2 separate regions of the Homo sapiens genome follow, and region 2 is linked to region 1. Evidence: promoter capture Hi-C in human tissues and cell types (Jung and others, 2019). All regions are on one chromosome and are shown on one strand. Each heading gives the region's core, a stretch centred on a gene start or on the middle of the fragment in contact. The rest is flanking DNA. Distances are from core to core; before and after follow the strand shown. Region 1 holds the start of NINJ2 (ninjurin 2). Region 2 overlaps B4GALNT3 (beta-1,4-N-acetyl-galactosaminyltransferase 3).

The links. Contacts are between HindIII fragments. The study calls those that stand out against the background at their distance.
Region 2: a contact is called between a fragment that was not itself captured here and the fragment with the promoter of NINJ2 in region 1, in 2 of the 25 tissues and cell types used here (spleen and thymus).

Annotation. Positions count from the first base shown.
Region 1 is chr12:659,923-667,874 of GRCh38, reverse strand. NINJ2 (ninjurin 2) reads left to right here and starts at 4,430. Exons shown (of 4, transcript NM_016533.6): 1 at 4,430-4,547. The coding sequence starts at 4,515. RefSeq lists an enhancer at 733-1,232. The HindIII fragment of the contact is 21,671 bases long and covers 2,539-7,952 here.
Region 2 is chr12:560,956-568,907 of GRCh38, reverse strand. It overlaps B4GALNT3 (beta-1,4-N-acetyl-galactosaminyltransferase 3), which reads right to left. Exons shown (of 20, transcript NM_173593.4): 20 at 5,399-7,565. The coding sequence ends at 7,457. NINJ2 (ninjurin 2) reads left to right here. Exons shown (of 4, transcript NM_016533.6): 2 at 2,730-2,958; 3 at 3,507-3,691; 4 at 4,227-4,612. The coding sequence ends at 3,673. Among named protein-coding and RNA genes, the nearest start is that of NINJ2-AS1, 66 kb to the left of the region's middle. RefSeq lists enhancers at 2,492-2,991, 2,992-3,493, 5,658-6,159. The HindIII fragment of the contact is 5,955 bases long and covers 1,739-7,693 here.

The sequences.
Region 1 (7,952 bases), core at 3,181-5,680:
CCTGGGTTCACGCCATTCTTTTGTGCCTCAGCCTCCCAAATAGCTGGGATTACCGGCATGCACCACCAGGCCCAGCTAATTTTTGTATTTTTAGTAGAGAGGGGTTACACCATGTTGTCCAGGCTGGTCTCAAACTCCTGACCTCAGGTGATCTGCCTACCTCGGTGCTGGATTACAGGTGTGAGCCACGACACCTGGCCAAAACACACATTAGAAACAGAATTTAAGAGCTAGAGGGATCTTAGGAATCAACTCTTTTGATAGCTTCACATTCACAAACAAGAATGTAAGCCCCAGAGAAGTTAAGTGACTTGCCTAAAAACACAGTGACTCAGCACACAGAGAGGAATCCAGGCCACCTGGCTTTCACCCTAGAGCTTTTCCCACAATTCAAAATTAAAGGATCTTCTTGCTGTTGCCTTCTTCAGTACCCTACAACAATGCTTTGCTCCTTCTACATAGCAAGATACCTAGGGTCTCATTGTAGACCCCTCATTCCATGAAACTAGACTCAGAGTAGTTTCTGAGTCACTCTGAGTGTCTACTTATCTGTAAGTTCAAGGATATTCCAAAATATGCTTTCCAAGAGACAGTCTCCCTAAAAATGTCCCTCTGGCTTTACACCACAAAAATCACCCTAGCAGTAAAGAACAATAGAAACCATTTCCACCCACAGTGATAACCTCCACGTAGGTGCAGTTTCAGCACCAGCCAAATGGCAGCAACACTCTTCACTACAGCTTCCCTTGCCATCAGTTGTCTCACCAGGGCGTGCATGTGGTGCTTTTATATCCCCGCAGTGTTTAACCCAATATCCACGTGGTAGAGACTCAGTAGTTGCCTCTCAAGTGGGAATTAGACTTCAAAGACTCTGATTAAATCCTAGAGCAGGGGTCAGCAGACTATAGCCTGTGGAGCCAACTCCGGTCTGTTTTTATGAATATCTGACTCTTTTTGTAAATAAAGTTTTATTGGAACACTCCCACACTCGTTCATTTACATGTTGTCTATGACTGCTTTCACATTATTATAGAAGTGAGTCATCGCAGCAGAAACCATATGACACACAAAGGCTAAAAAATATTGGCTCTCTGGCCCCTTACAGAAAAAGTTTACTGGCTGGGCATGGTGACCCACGCCTGTAATTCCAGCACTTTGAGAGATCGAGGTGAGCGGATCGCTTGAGCTCAGGAGTTTGAGGCCAGCCTGGGCAACATGGCGAAACCCCCGTCTCTACAAAAAATACAGAAATTAGCCAGGCATGGTGGCACGCGCCTGTAATCCCAGCTACTGGGCTGGGGGTTGGGGCCTGAGGTGGGAGGATCACTTAAGCCCAGGAGGCAGAGATTGCAGTGAGCAGAGACTGTGCCACTGCACACCAGCCTGGGTGACAGAGTGAGACCCCGTCTCAAAAAATTAAAATTAAAATTAAAAAAGCTTCATATAGCAATTTGAATTTTATAAAAGGGAAAAATGAAAAAGAAAAACTTTGCTGACCCCTGGTCCAGGGTTACAGCGTGATATGGTAGATAAACCATTTTCCAAAGCCTTTTTTCTGTTTACTTCCAAATGATGCTTATGAGATGGGGAAAGGTCCAAATCCAGAAAGATCTTGCCAAACCAAAACCATTATTATAACCAATTACAGCTGTTTCCTTTTCAAACCAATGTGCTTATTAATAGGAAATTTTTTGAAATATATTCGAGTACTTTTCTCTTTTGCATTTTTTTGTTCCTGTTTCCCTCTATTCAGCCAGATGTATCCATATTATTTAAAAGATAATGAGGATTTTCACAACAGGAGTGCAAAGAGAAATAAATAGTTAATATTTTGCTTCTGGCATCCGAAATAAGGTTTTCCAGAAAGTTTTTTTTTTTTTTTAAGACATGGTCTTGCTTTGTCAACTCAGGCTGGAGTACAGTGTCATGATCATAGCTCACTGCAGCCTTCAGCTCCCAGGCTCAAGCAATCCTCCCACCTCAGCCTCCCAAGTACCTGGGACTACAGGTGCTGCAAGCTGCCACATCTAGCTAAATTAAAAAAAAATTTTTTTTTTGTAGAGACAGGATCTCACTGTGTTTCCCAGGCTGGTCTTGAACCCCTGGGCTCAAGTGACCTCCTGCCTCTACTTCCCACAATGCTGGGATTACAGGTGTGAGCCACCATGTCCAGCCAAAAAGTTCTTCTACAGATGGGATCTCACTATGTTGCTCAAGCTGGTCTTGAACTCCTGGGCTCAAGAGATCCTCCGGCTTTGGCCTCCCGAAGTGCTGGGATCACAGGTATGAGCCATGCTGCCCAGCCAAGACAATATTTTTGACAACCAGGTTTTCTTGAGAGAGAGGATTTTCTAAATTTCTTCATTTCCCTTTGAATTGTTGTCATAGAGTTCTACATCAGATACATCCCAGCCAAACAGGAAAAAAAAAAAAAAAAAGAAGACAAAGCGTACATTTTCTGATTCTAGATTAAGGGGACTATGGGAAGAAGTAATCTCAGCTACTCGGGAGGCTGAGGCAGGAGAATCGTTTGAACCCAGGAGGCAGAAGTTGCAGTGAGCCGAGATGGCGCCACTGCACTCCAGCTTGTGCAACAGAGCGAGACTCCATCTCAAAAAAAAAAAAGTGCTTAGAATAGTGCTTGATACATAGTGGTATTATTATGAGCGGTGGGGTGATAGATATTACTGGTAGACTTTTTAAGGAGTGCTGAGAAGAGTGGGTTCCAGGTCTCATTTCCATTCAGGAATGTGGAAGGAGATCACCTCGCAGACTGCCCTGTGTCAGTTGGAGCAGCCACATCAGAGCAAACTCTGCTGGAAGTGGGGCTGAGCTTGCCTTTCCCCTGCCCTTCGTCAGCAGCCCTCAGTCCCCATGTGCCTAAGGGGGCTCAGGAGCACTGGTCAAGCATCTCACAGGAAAATTTCGAGGGGCTTATCTTAGAGATGTGGGCCACTGAGCGGATACAGTGGGATGGGGGCACATACAAGTCAAAGCCAGGTCTCAGGATGGTCCACATTGCCACGAGCCAAGGTAGCGCAGACAGCAAGGGAGAACACTGGATCTCAAAGGCAGAAAGAGAATCACCCATGAGTGACTCTGGCCTAATATCAGACATCAGCCACCAAGGCCAGCAGAAGACCCAGGAGCAGGACCTGTGTCTCCTCAGCAGTCAGCAATTCGGGCGGGCCCGTGGGCCCAGCAGCTCCAGAACAGAAAGGAGCCGAGATGGAGAGGCCACAGGATAGATGCAAGAACCGTCCCCACCCCGCCCTCCTGTGCACCTAGGTGCCATCTTCTGCAAATCCGAAAGACTGAGCATTGTGTCTAAAGTGGACTGTTTACCATTTAAATGATTAAATCCAACTATGCTTCATAGATTAGACTAAAATATGGCCCCCATCCAATCATCCAACCCTCCCTCGCACCACTGTCCAGAGGGATGGGAACTTATAAAGGCATTTCATAGAACTGAAGAAATCGCCTTTTTTTTTTTTTACATTTGAATGTGGTGAGGGTAAACGTGTTGACTCTGCCTGTCTTCCTCCTGCCCGCACCTCTTCAAGCCCTGAATTGGATTACAGGTTAACACCCTGCCATGCACGTCTACAGACATACCCACACCCACACCTGCACAAGCTTGTGTCTAAACCTTGCTTCAGGAACAAGCCAGAAGAGTTTTGGGCTCTAAGGTAAACAGGAGAGGAAAAAAAAAACTTTCTAAAAAAAGACTCCCTCCTGGTAATTTTATTTTAAAAGTAGGGAGAATACCACTGTTTGCATAAACAAGCTTCGAAGGTACAACTACTCCCTGCTCCCTCTATGGCTAATCAAGGGAGGAGTTGAAGGAATCAAACAATCCGTCAGTAAAAACGTATTGTTCACTCACTTTGCAGAACAAAGCCTATGCTTTGGAGCCTATTAGGTAAACTACAATTTTTTTAAAAACTTTTAGGGATATAGGGAACAAAGCAAAGAACAACGGAAATCCCTCTGCCTCAGTATTGAGACTGTGCTGGAGGTCACTCCACCCGTGGCGACTGGGGACTGGACCCAGCGGTGAAGTCAGATAGCGTTGTCCTCAGGCTGTTTTTCAATTTGCTTGATAAACATGCAGGATTTCTTTGCCAGTCATAAAGCTACTAGCTCAAAGCAGGCTGGGTGACCTCAGATGGCTCCGCTGGGACTGGAAGGTCACTGGAGCCACTGGTGAAAATGATGCTGTCACTACCAACTCAAAAGGTCACCTATCAGTGTGCCATGTGCCACCTCCTGGAGCACACACATGTGCACACACATACACTCACACGTGTGTGCAGGTGCACACCTCCCCCAGAGGCTGCAGCCAAGACGGGCATCCCACATCAGAGGGATGAATGGCAGGTCTGTCCCGCCAGCTGTGTGCTCTCTCCCACCCGAAGAAAGCAGCAGAGACTCAGACGGCGGAGCCTGGAGGAGCCCACGCAGTCTGTTCCCGGCACCCGGTGCGTGTGAAGGGACTTGAGGGCAGCGAGATGGAATCAGCAAGAGAAAACATCGACCTTCAAGTAAGTTCTCTCTGGAAGAGAGCAGAGGGGAGACCGGGAGTAGAGGTGAAGCTGGAAGAACAGAGGATTGATACTTTAGTCACTTGATATTCTCCCTCCCCGTTCTCTTCTTACTCACTCCCTTCTCCAAATGCTCCCTAGGCTTTGTCTCTTTATTTTCTCTTTCTCTCTGTTTCCCTATCTGGTTCTTCACTTGTTTTGAAATATCTGAAAAACAGATTGGTTAACTCCCTTTTGGCCTCTGCTTCCTCTTGTCAGTCAAAGAGCTAATTAGATCCGTATTACCAGAAAATGATTTCACATTCTGAGCAGTGCTTTCCCCAAACCCCAGGACAGTAGAGACTTCTCTTAGAGCTGCCGGGGAGACAGGAAATATATGAGTTTTGAGGCTAGGAAGAGAGGCAGCTGGCCAACTTTGCATTTTACAGGTTGGAAAAAACTTGAGCCGTTTCTCGGCTGTCTTCACAAAGCTCTACTGTGTAGGACAGAAAGCGTCTCATTTGGACAGTGCAAGGAAAGGAAATCAGTCTAATCTCCTAGGAAGAGGCAGAGATGTGTGTCCCTCTGTAGCTGGGATGGGCTTGGAAGGCATCAGAGGTTCCAGTCCACTGCTGGAGGGGAAAGGGTGGGATGTTACGGTGAGAGGAGAGCCAGATTGCTGGGAGCTGCACTCTGTGACTCCTTGCCAATGGATAGAATAGAACGAACCCTTCTATGACCACTGCTGAGGCTGTGTAACATTGCAGAGAATCAAACAAAGTGTGGAAAAGGACTTTTGAGATCAAGAATTTCTGATCCCTGAACCTGGTCCTCGAACAAAATCTTAAGCAGCCACCCAATATACACTTCGGATTAAAGAAGAGCTGTTTTGTTGAAGCAGAGTATGTGCACGCGTCTCTCTCTCTCTCTCTCTCTCTCGTTCTCTGTGTGTGTTTTGGGCAGGGTGGCGTGAGTCTGGCAGAGTCTCTGTCCTTGGCCCCTCCGCCCTTGAGACACCACCAGGGAACTGTAGGACTGCTTGGTGTGCTGTGTCAAAACCATTCACCTAGTACAACTGCATACCCAGTGCTGTTTTCCTGGATTGGCAGCCAGCCCCGAGAGCGGTCCCACCGCAAGGCTTGCTTGTCCCTCTGTCTGGAACCTTCTTTCCCTGGCTTATCTCCTGGCTGGCCCTTCCTAGTACATTCAGGTCTCAGCTCAAATGTTACTTCCCCCAGGAGCCCTCCCCTGACCAACCTCTTCACAGGATGCCTCCTCCCCAATTTGTCTTTATCATTTGTTTAATTTCTTTCATAGCACTGCTCACCACCTAAAGTTACACTGCTTATTTATTTAGTATGTATTGCCTGTCACTCTCACTAGGACACAAGATCTCTGAGGGCAGGGCCTCTCCTGTTTTATTCACTGCTGCAGCCCGAGTGCATGAGGCAACTCTTGGTACACGGTCATTGCTTTAGAAAACATTTGTTAAATGAATGAGTTGAGGAAGCCATGAGTTGGAGAGGCTCTGAGATAGGAATAAGGTCACCTAATTGGCCCAAGACCTCCAGTCCATGTCTTCTGTCCCTAGTATGTGTTTTCTTCTTACTTCTAGTTCTTGCCTCTATAAGATCCTTGGTTGTTAAGGAAATTGTGTTGCTGCTTATTTTCATTCTCAGAAGAGCAAGTTTCTTATGTGCTGATGGGTTGAACGATCCAGAGTTACAGGCTAAGGACTCTGCATCTGAACCAGAGGTTCAGAAGGAAAGAGGTGGTGGGAGGAAGGAGAAGGAAATGACTGGCTAGGCTGGATGAATGTCTCTCTCTAGCAGGTAACTGAGGTGTTAGTGTACCTTTCTCTTCATTTGTCATTCACTCTCTTCTAATATGCTATTTAATTCTTGTATCTTACATTTTCCTTTGCTCAGAAGGTTATCCATTATTTTCTACAATTTATTGTCCACCTTTGGCTGGGCACGGTGGCCTACGCCTGTAATCCTAGCATTTTGGAGGCTGAGGCAGGAGGATCACTTGAGCTCAAGAGCTAGAGATCAGCCTGGGCAACATAGCAAGACCCTATCTCTATTAAAAATTTAAAAGTAATTAGCTAGGCATGGTGGCATGCACCTGTAGTCCCCACTACTCGGGAGGCTGAGGTGGGAGGATTGTTTGAAGCCAGGAGTTCAAGGTTGCAGTGAGCTACAATCATGCCATTGCACTCCAGCCTGGGCGGCAGAGCCAGACCCTATCTCTAAAAACAAAACAATAACACTCTTTAGTTAAAACAATGTTTCCCCAAAATGTGGTACAATTATCACCAATGGGTGGTAAAGGTACATCAATGGCTGACAGCTTTTTATTATAATGTTTATTTTTACAGTTTTTTTTGAGATGGAGTCTCACTCTGTCGCCTAGGGTGGAGTGTAGTGGCAAAATCTCAGCTCACTGCAACCTCCGCCTCCTGGGTTCAAGTGATTCTCCTGCCTCAGCTTCCCAAGTAGCTGGGATTATAGGCATGTACCACCACACTTGGCTAATTTTCATATTTTTAGTAGAGACAGGGTTTCATCATATTGGCCAGGCTAGTCTTGCACTCCTGACCTCAAATGATCCACAAGCCTCGGCCTCCCAAAGTGCTGGGATTACAGGTGTGAGCCACCATAGCTGGCCATCTTTATAGTTTCAGTATTCATTAGAAAGAGCATAACAGGGCCGGGCTAGGTGGCTCACGCCTGTAACCCCAGCACTTTGGGAGTCTGAGGTGGGCGGATCACGAGGTCAGGGGTTGCAGACCATCCTGGCCAACATAGTGAAACCCTGTCTCTACTAAAAATACAAAAATTAGCTAGGCGTGGTGGTGTACGCCTGTAGTCCCAGCTACTCAGGAGGCTGAGGCAGGAGAGTTGCTTGAACCTGGGAGGCAGAGGTTGTGGTGAGCGGAGATCGTGCCACTGCACTTTTGAGACTCTGTCTCAAAAAAAAAAAAAAGAAAAGAAAAAAGAAAGAAAGCATAACAACTTATCAGACCTGTGATTCCTTTTTTTTTTTTTTTTTTTTTTAACAGACAGGATCTTGCTGTGTCACACAGGCAGGAGTGCAGTGGTGCAATCTTGGCTCACTGCAGCCTTAACCTCCTGGGCCCAAGTTATCCTCCTGCCTCAGCCTCCTAAATAGCTGGGACCACACATGTGCACTACCATGCCCAGCTAATTTTTTTTTTCTTTTTTTAGTGATTGGGGTCTCACTGTATTGCCCAGGCTGGTCTCTAACTGCTGGTCTCAAGTGATCTTCCTGTCTTGGCCTCCCAAAGTGTTGGGATTACAGGCATGAGCCACATGTCCAGGCAATTCCAACATTTTTATTGCTTAGGATGAGCCTCAAGTAAGTGGCAGGAAGTTTTTTGACACCTTTATACAGTCCTTGCAC
Region 2 (7,952 bases), core at 3,467-5,966, 99 kb after region 1:
AGTGCTTACCCGGGGGGCGGGGGGGGGGGGGTGTCCTCACAGCCCCAAGCACCGCCTGGCATGTACAGTCAATCTATTGAATGAATGCTACCCGCTGGTCTCCATTCTACTCTCCCAGAGAAAGTGTTTAAATTGCTCCACTGGCCAAAGTGCACACTCCTGATTACCCTCTGTGAGTCCTGCCCCGTCCAGAAGTTGAGGACACTCGGAATCTCAATAATGAACAACCCAGGTGCAGGGAACTGCCCCGTGTAGAAAGCTGATGGCCTGGAGTGTGGTCAGAGTGAAAGAGCCACTCCTATATGTTTGATCCTCCAATGACTGGTCCACAGAGTCAGAGAGGGGCAGCCTGCGGGGCACAGGCTGCCAGGGTGGATTCCATCAGAGCAGGTGCTGTTAGCACCCATGACCACCCTGTGCCTCTTGAATGTGTCTGTGTGTGTGCACCCTCCTGGCAAACAGAGCAAAGGGCCAGGAGCTTGGAAAGGAAGTGAGAAGAGCAGGGTGGAGACGTGGGGCTGAGTTTTGAAGGCAAACGTTAGGAGAAGGACTGGGGAAGAGAGGCTCCCTTCTGTTGGCCTAGGAGAGGATTGGTCCAATCTGTAGCCAGGCATGTGGATTAGAGCTGGATCTCCAAAGACGAGTGCCCAAGACCATATTTTAGGATAAGAAAATTAAACTTCTATTTATATTGAATTTTATGTAATCCTTTCAAATGTTTCTACTTTTGCATATTTTACTATATATATAATTAGTCCAATAAAAATATGTATAGTTGATAATGGAAGAATGTACATATATTGAGGATGCATGGCCAAAACAGTTTTTAATGCTGAGATTACACTATCAAGAAAGTCTGGAGACTACTGCATTTCAGAGTTTTGTTTTTGTTTTTGTTTTGAGACAAGAGTCTTACTCTGCCACCCAGGCTAGAGTGCAATGGTGCGATCTCTGCTCACTGCAACCTCTGCCTCCTGGTTCAAGTGATTCTCCTGCCTCAGCCTCCTGAGTAGCTGGGATTACAGGCGTGTGACACCATACCCAGCTGATTTTTTTGTATTTTTAGTAGAGACGGGATTTTGCCATGTTGGCCAGGCTAGTCTCAAACTCCTGACCTCAAATGATCCCCCTGCCTTGGCCTCTCAAAGTGCTGGAGTTACGGGCATGAGCCACTGCACCCAGCCTCATTTCGGGGTATCCTAAGGGCTCATAGAATCCAAAGGTTCTGATAGATAGGTAAATCAGTTAGCCTATGTGTAAATCAACTGTCCTCTGTGTAAATCCCTGAGGTACAGAGAAGTGAAGTGACTTGCTGGGGCTGCACGAAGTACAAGGAACATTCCAGACCCTCTGAGACCTGCCTATCCAATCATCCACGCATCCATCCATCCACCCACCAATCTCTCCATCCATCCATCCATCCCTTCATCCATGAAGCTTTATTTTATACTTCAAAACAAAATCAAATGTAAATTATGCTTCAATAAATCCTAGCCAAAAAAATTAAAAACAAATTACGAGTGTTTAACTGGTATGCATCACTGTGCATATATAGGCACGCATCCATCTATCCATCCATCTGTCCCCACGCAGCAGGTATCTGTCCTGTCGTGGTGATCTGCTGGGTCATCTTCCCTACCTCCAGGCCATAGCATCCTTCAATCCATCCGTCTCTCCCCACTCTGCAGGTATCTGTCCTGTCATGGTGATCTGCTGGGTCATCTTCCCTACCTCCAGGCCGTAGCATCCTTCAGAGTCCTCCATTCCTTCCTGTCTCACCTTGCTCCACTTCAGTTCCTTTTCACCCTGATCCTAAATCAATACTATAACTTTTAAATGACTCTCCCTGCTTCTAGCCCTTCCTGGCCCAGTCTGTTCCAAGCACCACTGCTAAATCAATCTTCCAAGTACTCTTGAGTGACTGCAGATTGCCCTTGGTCATGGCGCCCAGTCTGAAATTCTTGGCCCAACCCAGAGGCCCACAGCATATGCCCTGTATTGTGATTCTGTCTTTTGGAGTTAGTGGCTTCTGGAGAAGCTTTAGTAAATTATGCTTCAATAAATCCTAGCCAAAAGTAATAATTAAAATGATGTGAGTGTTTAACTAGTATGCATTACTGTGTGTATACACTCATGCATGCATGCATGTGTATGCTGAGAGCCTGTGTCTGACAGCGTGTGTGCCTGAGCAGGGCGGCAGCTCCAGTGCTCCTGAGGGTTGGAAATCCAGCCGATGATCAGCTGCTGAGCTGTGCACCCTGCCTTGGGGGCCACAGCATTATGCGAGAGGAGGTGCCTTTCTCTATTTCACCCAAGCCTCCAAGCTCTTTTTATTGTCTTCTCAGGTGCTTTCCTCTCAGAGGAAAAGAACACAGCCCAAAGCTGAGGCCTGGCCCAGGTAAAATAGTGAATAGGGTGAGGAAGGTGCATTTTACCAGCAGCAGAGAACCCTCCCGGCTTTCTCCAGCCAGATGTGTGAAGGTGTGAGGGAAGGGGTGACTCTCCAGGAAGTATCAACTGCAACAGAATGTCATTTCAGAGTGCAGAGGTCCTTATGGGTTTTCTCGTCCAACCCTTCATTTTATCAGGCCATGAAACTAAGGGTGTCATTTGCCCTGAGCTTCCCATCTGGATTGGAAAGAGCTTTAAAACCTCTCTCCTCTCTCCCACCTCTCAACTGCTTCCCTTCCAGAGCTCCCCTTGGTAAGTCTGTGCTTTCTCCCCTACAGCCTGGAAGCTCCGACCCCAGGAGCCAGCCCATCAACCTGAACCATTACGCCACCAAGAAGAGCGTGGCGGAGAGCATGCTGGACGTGGCCCTGTTCATGTCCAACGCCATGCGGCTGAAGGCGGTGCTGGAGCAGGGACCATCCTCTCACTACTACACCACCCTGGTCACCCTCATCAGCCTCTCTCTGCTCCTGCAGGTGGTCATCGGTGTCCTGCTCGTGGTCATTGGTGAGGAGCCCAGCCTGCAGTCAGACCTTCTGCCTCGGCACCCGTGGCTGGCAGAAAGGCCCCACGTGTCCCCTGGGCCACCCTGCATTGGCACAGGCAGCTTTGCAACCACACGCTGACCTGCAGTGAGCCCTCCGCTAACAGAGGCCCAAAGACCAACTTCCACCCCGCGAGGGCAGGCGCCCTGTCCTGTCTCCTGGTATCCCATGGAGCAGACCCTCCGCAGTACCTGCTGAATGACTGCGCCAGCACCTCGCTAACTGCTAACTCACTCACTCGCTCACCGCTTCTCCATGAGCACTCGTCCCCACGCTTACAGGACCCAGCTTAAGTTCCCAAATCCTGGTGGGATGAAGCACACTAGGGTGCCCCATTGTACTGGTTGGCGAGGGCAGAGGCATCTCAGCCCGATGACGACCACCTCCCTTGATTTCTGCCACATGGGTTTCTGAAGGGCCCCTCTCTCCAAACTCTGGTGGGTGTTGTGGGGGCAGCTCCGTGCTGTGGCCCCGTCTCTGACCCTTTCCCCCCACTCCACTTCCCTGCAGCACGGCTGAACCTGAATGAGGTAGAAAAGCAGTGGCGACTCAACCAGCTCAACAACGCAGCCACCATCTTGGTCTTCTTCACTGTGGTCATCAATGTTTTCATTACAGCCTTCGGGGCACATAAAACAGGGTTCCTGGCTGCCAGGGCCTCAAGGAATCCTCTCTGAATGCAGCCTGGGACCCAGGTGAGGGAGGATGGAGGAACCCCAGCTCCAGGGACTCCCCAGGTGGCCCTTCTCTCTCCTCTGGGGCTTTGGGGCAAGAAACAGATCCCTTGCCAAACAAAGGGGGAAGGCCTGTAGCTCCGAGAGCAAGGAGAGGATCTGCAAGAGCCTGGCCTCAGCGAGGCTTGCACAAAGCCCCACTGCTGTGTTAATGGCTCTCTGCTCTCAGGCTCAGGTTTTCCCACGGTCTGGGACAGGGTGGAGGCGATGCCATTAGTGGTTGACTCTGCCCCTCCGGCAAGAGGAAAGGTGGAGATGGGGAATTTCTCCCTGCCATTGTCTAGCAGCTCTTGCTACTGACTGTGGTCCATGGGTCAGCAGCATCCACAAACCACCCAGGAACTTGCTGGAAATGCAGAATCTCAGGCTCTGCTCGAGCACGTGCTACAGGCACGTGCATGAGTAACGTGGCCAGGTGCATCCTGGGCATGCTGAAGGTTGAGGGGCATTGATCTGGCCTGCCATCCTCATTGCCTCTTCTCTGCTTCCTCAACAGGTTCTGGGCCTGGAACTTCTGCCTCCTTCCTCCGTGATCTGCCAGGCTCGTGGGCACTTTCCACAGCCCAGGAGAGCTTCTGAAAGGACAGTATAGCTGCCCTTGCTCCCTACCCACAGCACCTGAGTTAAAAAGTGATTTTTATGTTATTGGTCTAAGGGACTTCCATCTTGGTCTGAAGTCCTGAGCTCAGACGCAGGTACTGCCAGCCATACCTTCCTGGTAGCATCTGCTGGACCTAAGTAAGGCATGTCTGTCTAAGGCCAAGTCTGCCCGGCTTAAGGATGCTGGTTCTGACTCTACCCCACTGCTTCCTTCTGCTCCAGGCCTCAATTTTCCCTTCTTGTAAAATGGAATCTATATCTATAAAGGTTTCTTCAAATCCACTCTTGAGTCCACTTACTTGTCTAGTCCTGCAGGCTCAGGCATCCAGGCTGGTCTCCATCTGTGCCTTGGAGAGGGCTCAAGAGAGCAAACCCCAGACCTGGAGGGTGGGAAGGCTTTTAAATTACTTCCTCCTCTGTGGGTTCTGCTCGGAGCCAATGTTCCTGGCCCAGATGTCTTGCGCTTATCGTCATCTGCCCCATGAACTGTAGATTAGTCCATTGCAGGTGGATGCACATATGCACAATCTTCTCCACGAACCTGCTGTAAGCTATTCTGGCTTTCAGTCTCAGCTTCCCTTAGGCATGTGTTTAAGGACTGCAAACTCATTTTGATCTTTGCCTGGGCCAAATATAACGAGGAAGGTAAATCTGTAAAGCATTAGCAAAGCATTGCCAACTCAGAAACAGAAATGATTTTTAGAAGGTCTGCCAGTTTAGAAGCAGCCACTCGTTGGCTTCTCTCCACTGCTCACCAAACCGTTCTGGCCCTATATCTAGCCTTCTCCACCCAGCGTATCCATAGCTTTCCTCGGCTAAAACCACCAACCTCCATTAATCTGCTGAACAGAAAATGCCTAGTCTATTACACGGTGAGCTGCTCAGACAGGAACAATGTTGTCTTCTTCCTGAGTAAACCGCAGTGCAGAGAAGGCCATCTCACACACAGCAGGCATCACACTTGTGGTAAGGGTGGAGGGTGGTGTGGGAGGGTCCTTGGCACGCCCACCTGGGCCCCTCAGCCCAATCCTTTACATCCGTGAAGAGCAACAGGAAAAGACAAGCACCTTTTTTTTTTTCTAAGAAGTTGCTGTATTTAATGCTTCCCCTCCCACCATCCCACACCCTCTCCTACCCAAGACATTTCTCTAGGGAGTAGGGGCCTTGCCCGGCCCTTCCTCTTAAGGCAGATGGTGTGGAGGTAACATCAAACGCAAGGCACTGGCCCAGGGCGCAGGGGTGTGGGCAGGGCAGGAGGCTGGGCTGGCTCCTAGTCATTGGAAGTGAAGCAGGTGGGCAGTTTGGGCTGGTTCCAGCCTTCCAGTGCAATGCCCGAGGACGAGAGTGGTCCCAGAAAGAAACTGGCAGCCCCACTGGCCAACTGCAGCCCTAGCCTATGCCCCACCATCCTTCTCCAGGGGCCAGTCGGCCTCAGCAGGGACCAGAAAAAGCCACAGCCCAGGGAGCAGGTATGGCCTTCCTAAGCCACAATCTCAAAAGTCTCTGTCCTTCATGATTCCTTAAAGGGAGGCAGGGATTCTCCCCGACCCCCCAGAAGGTTCTCCACGGGCTCCATTCTCCCATGTGCCAAACTCGTGCTCTCGGGGAATGCAGAGCCCACTAGGCAGACCCTGCAGCTCCAGTGCCGTGGTTTGGACCGTCACAGCCTGGAGCGCGGGCTCAGTGGCCTGGTCTTCTGGGCCCCGCCGCACCTCCCCCAGCCCTGTGCTCACCTCCCTAAACAGACTCTGGAGTTCAAGATCCAGTGTCCAATGCACCATGGGTGAATTCACAGCAGTGGTGGAGGCAGCAGCAGCAACAGAAAAACCCCCAGCCACAAAAGCACCGGGGTTATTAGTGCAAGAGAAGTACAAGGTCTCCAGGTGACAGAAAGGGTGGCATCGACTAAAAAGGCTAAGGGCTATTTTCCCTGAAACTGCCCCCCTCTTCAGTTCCTCCTGCCCCCACTCCTCTCCCTGCCTCCAGGGGATATCTCAGGGCAATGTCCTCACCTCCCCAAACCTCTCATCCCGCCCCCTTCTTATCCTGCTCCCTGTCCAGGGTTTTGCCCCCGTACACCCTTTCCTCTTCTTCCACTCAAGGCCGGGTGGCCAGGGCTCTCCCTGCAGAAGGGCAGGTCTGCAGTGGAGCTGGACTGTGAGGCTCACAGCTTCCACTTCCCTTTTCGTCCCTTTCTGTCCAGCCCCCACCCGCTTCTTGCCTAAGGAAATTGACAGATATGTCCACATCCTCTTTACCTCTTCTCCATGTCCTCTCGGGAGGCCTTACCCACAGGCACGCCGGTAAGGGAAAGGGCTTCTCTCCCCTGCCTTCATCACCCTGCCTGTTCTGCAGGCCTCAATGTCCAGTGCCAGGGAGTGGCAAGCCCCCTGCCCGCCAGCTCCCCACCTCCCAATGCCCAAGCACCAGAAACAGCCCGTTCTGTGCTTCTGGTCTGACGTGAGCCATCCGGAGGAAGTTAATGCCCTAATCAGTGGCCAGCTGTTTGGTGGCTACTGGGAGATGTGTGTCTCTGGAAGGCACGAGCCTGGGGTGGAGCAGAGACCTGCCCCACGTGGGACCAGTCCCGCGGCCAGGGACAACGCCCAAGGGACATAGGAGTGGGCGGGAGGCCTGCACGTGGGGACAGTCCCTCAGTGCACAACCTCACCCCCGCTCTGGACAGCAGTTTCGGTTTTCTGTTTTTAAAATCCCCGCCCCCCAATAAAATATGTCCACTAGAAGAGGGTCTGGTGGTCAGCGCTTGGCGTGAGGAGCGCTTGGGGGATGTGGGCGTGCACCTTCATGGATGAGGATGGTGTCGCTCAGTCAGATCTCTCCTTCCTGACCCGTCCTTCTCAGGAGCTCTTCCCGTTCTCGACTGAGCAAGTGGTCCCTCCTGGCCTCTCTCTCAAAGTCCTCCCTTCTGAAGGCCCAGGAGGCAGAGACAGGAGCCCCGGAACCTGCCTCTGTGAGGGGACAGCTCCAGGTGGAGTGGGCCGTCAGCTTCGAGGCCTCTTGGGGTCCAGCCGTCACCCCACTCCCCATCCCTGAACAGTAGCAGGGCCCTGGGGAGCCACTGCTAGTCCAGAGCGGGGAGTGCTGGGCCCCGCGGACACCCTCCGGCTACAGCGTCTTCATCTGGCGACGGCTCCACATGCCTCGCTTGGAATGGAAATGATGGAAGAAATTCCTGAGGGAGAGACGCTCCACGTCCAGGCCCGCTTGGAGTATCCTGGAGGAGGAGAAACACAGATGAGCCAACAGAAGCACAGAAGGCAGCTGGGGGGCCCCTCCCCATCGACCACAGACCCTCTGTTCGCTCCCCACGGGGCAGGGAAGGCAGGTGCAGTGGACGGCTGTGGGCTTTGAAGCCAGGCAGCCTGGGTTTGGATCCCAGCTGCATGACTGGGTATGTCACGCCTTCTTTCAGAGCCTGTCTGCTCATCTCTAGGAGGACGATTATCACATACGTGTAATGAGAGGATAATGTGTGATATAGAATTCTATCTATCTAATATTAGAGTAGACATACTATATACACATCAGAGGTGGGGAAGACGAGAAGGATGGATGCTGAGGGCTCAGCACGGCTCCTGGCACACTCTGAGTGCCCCATAAC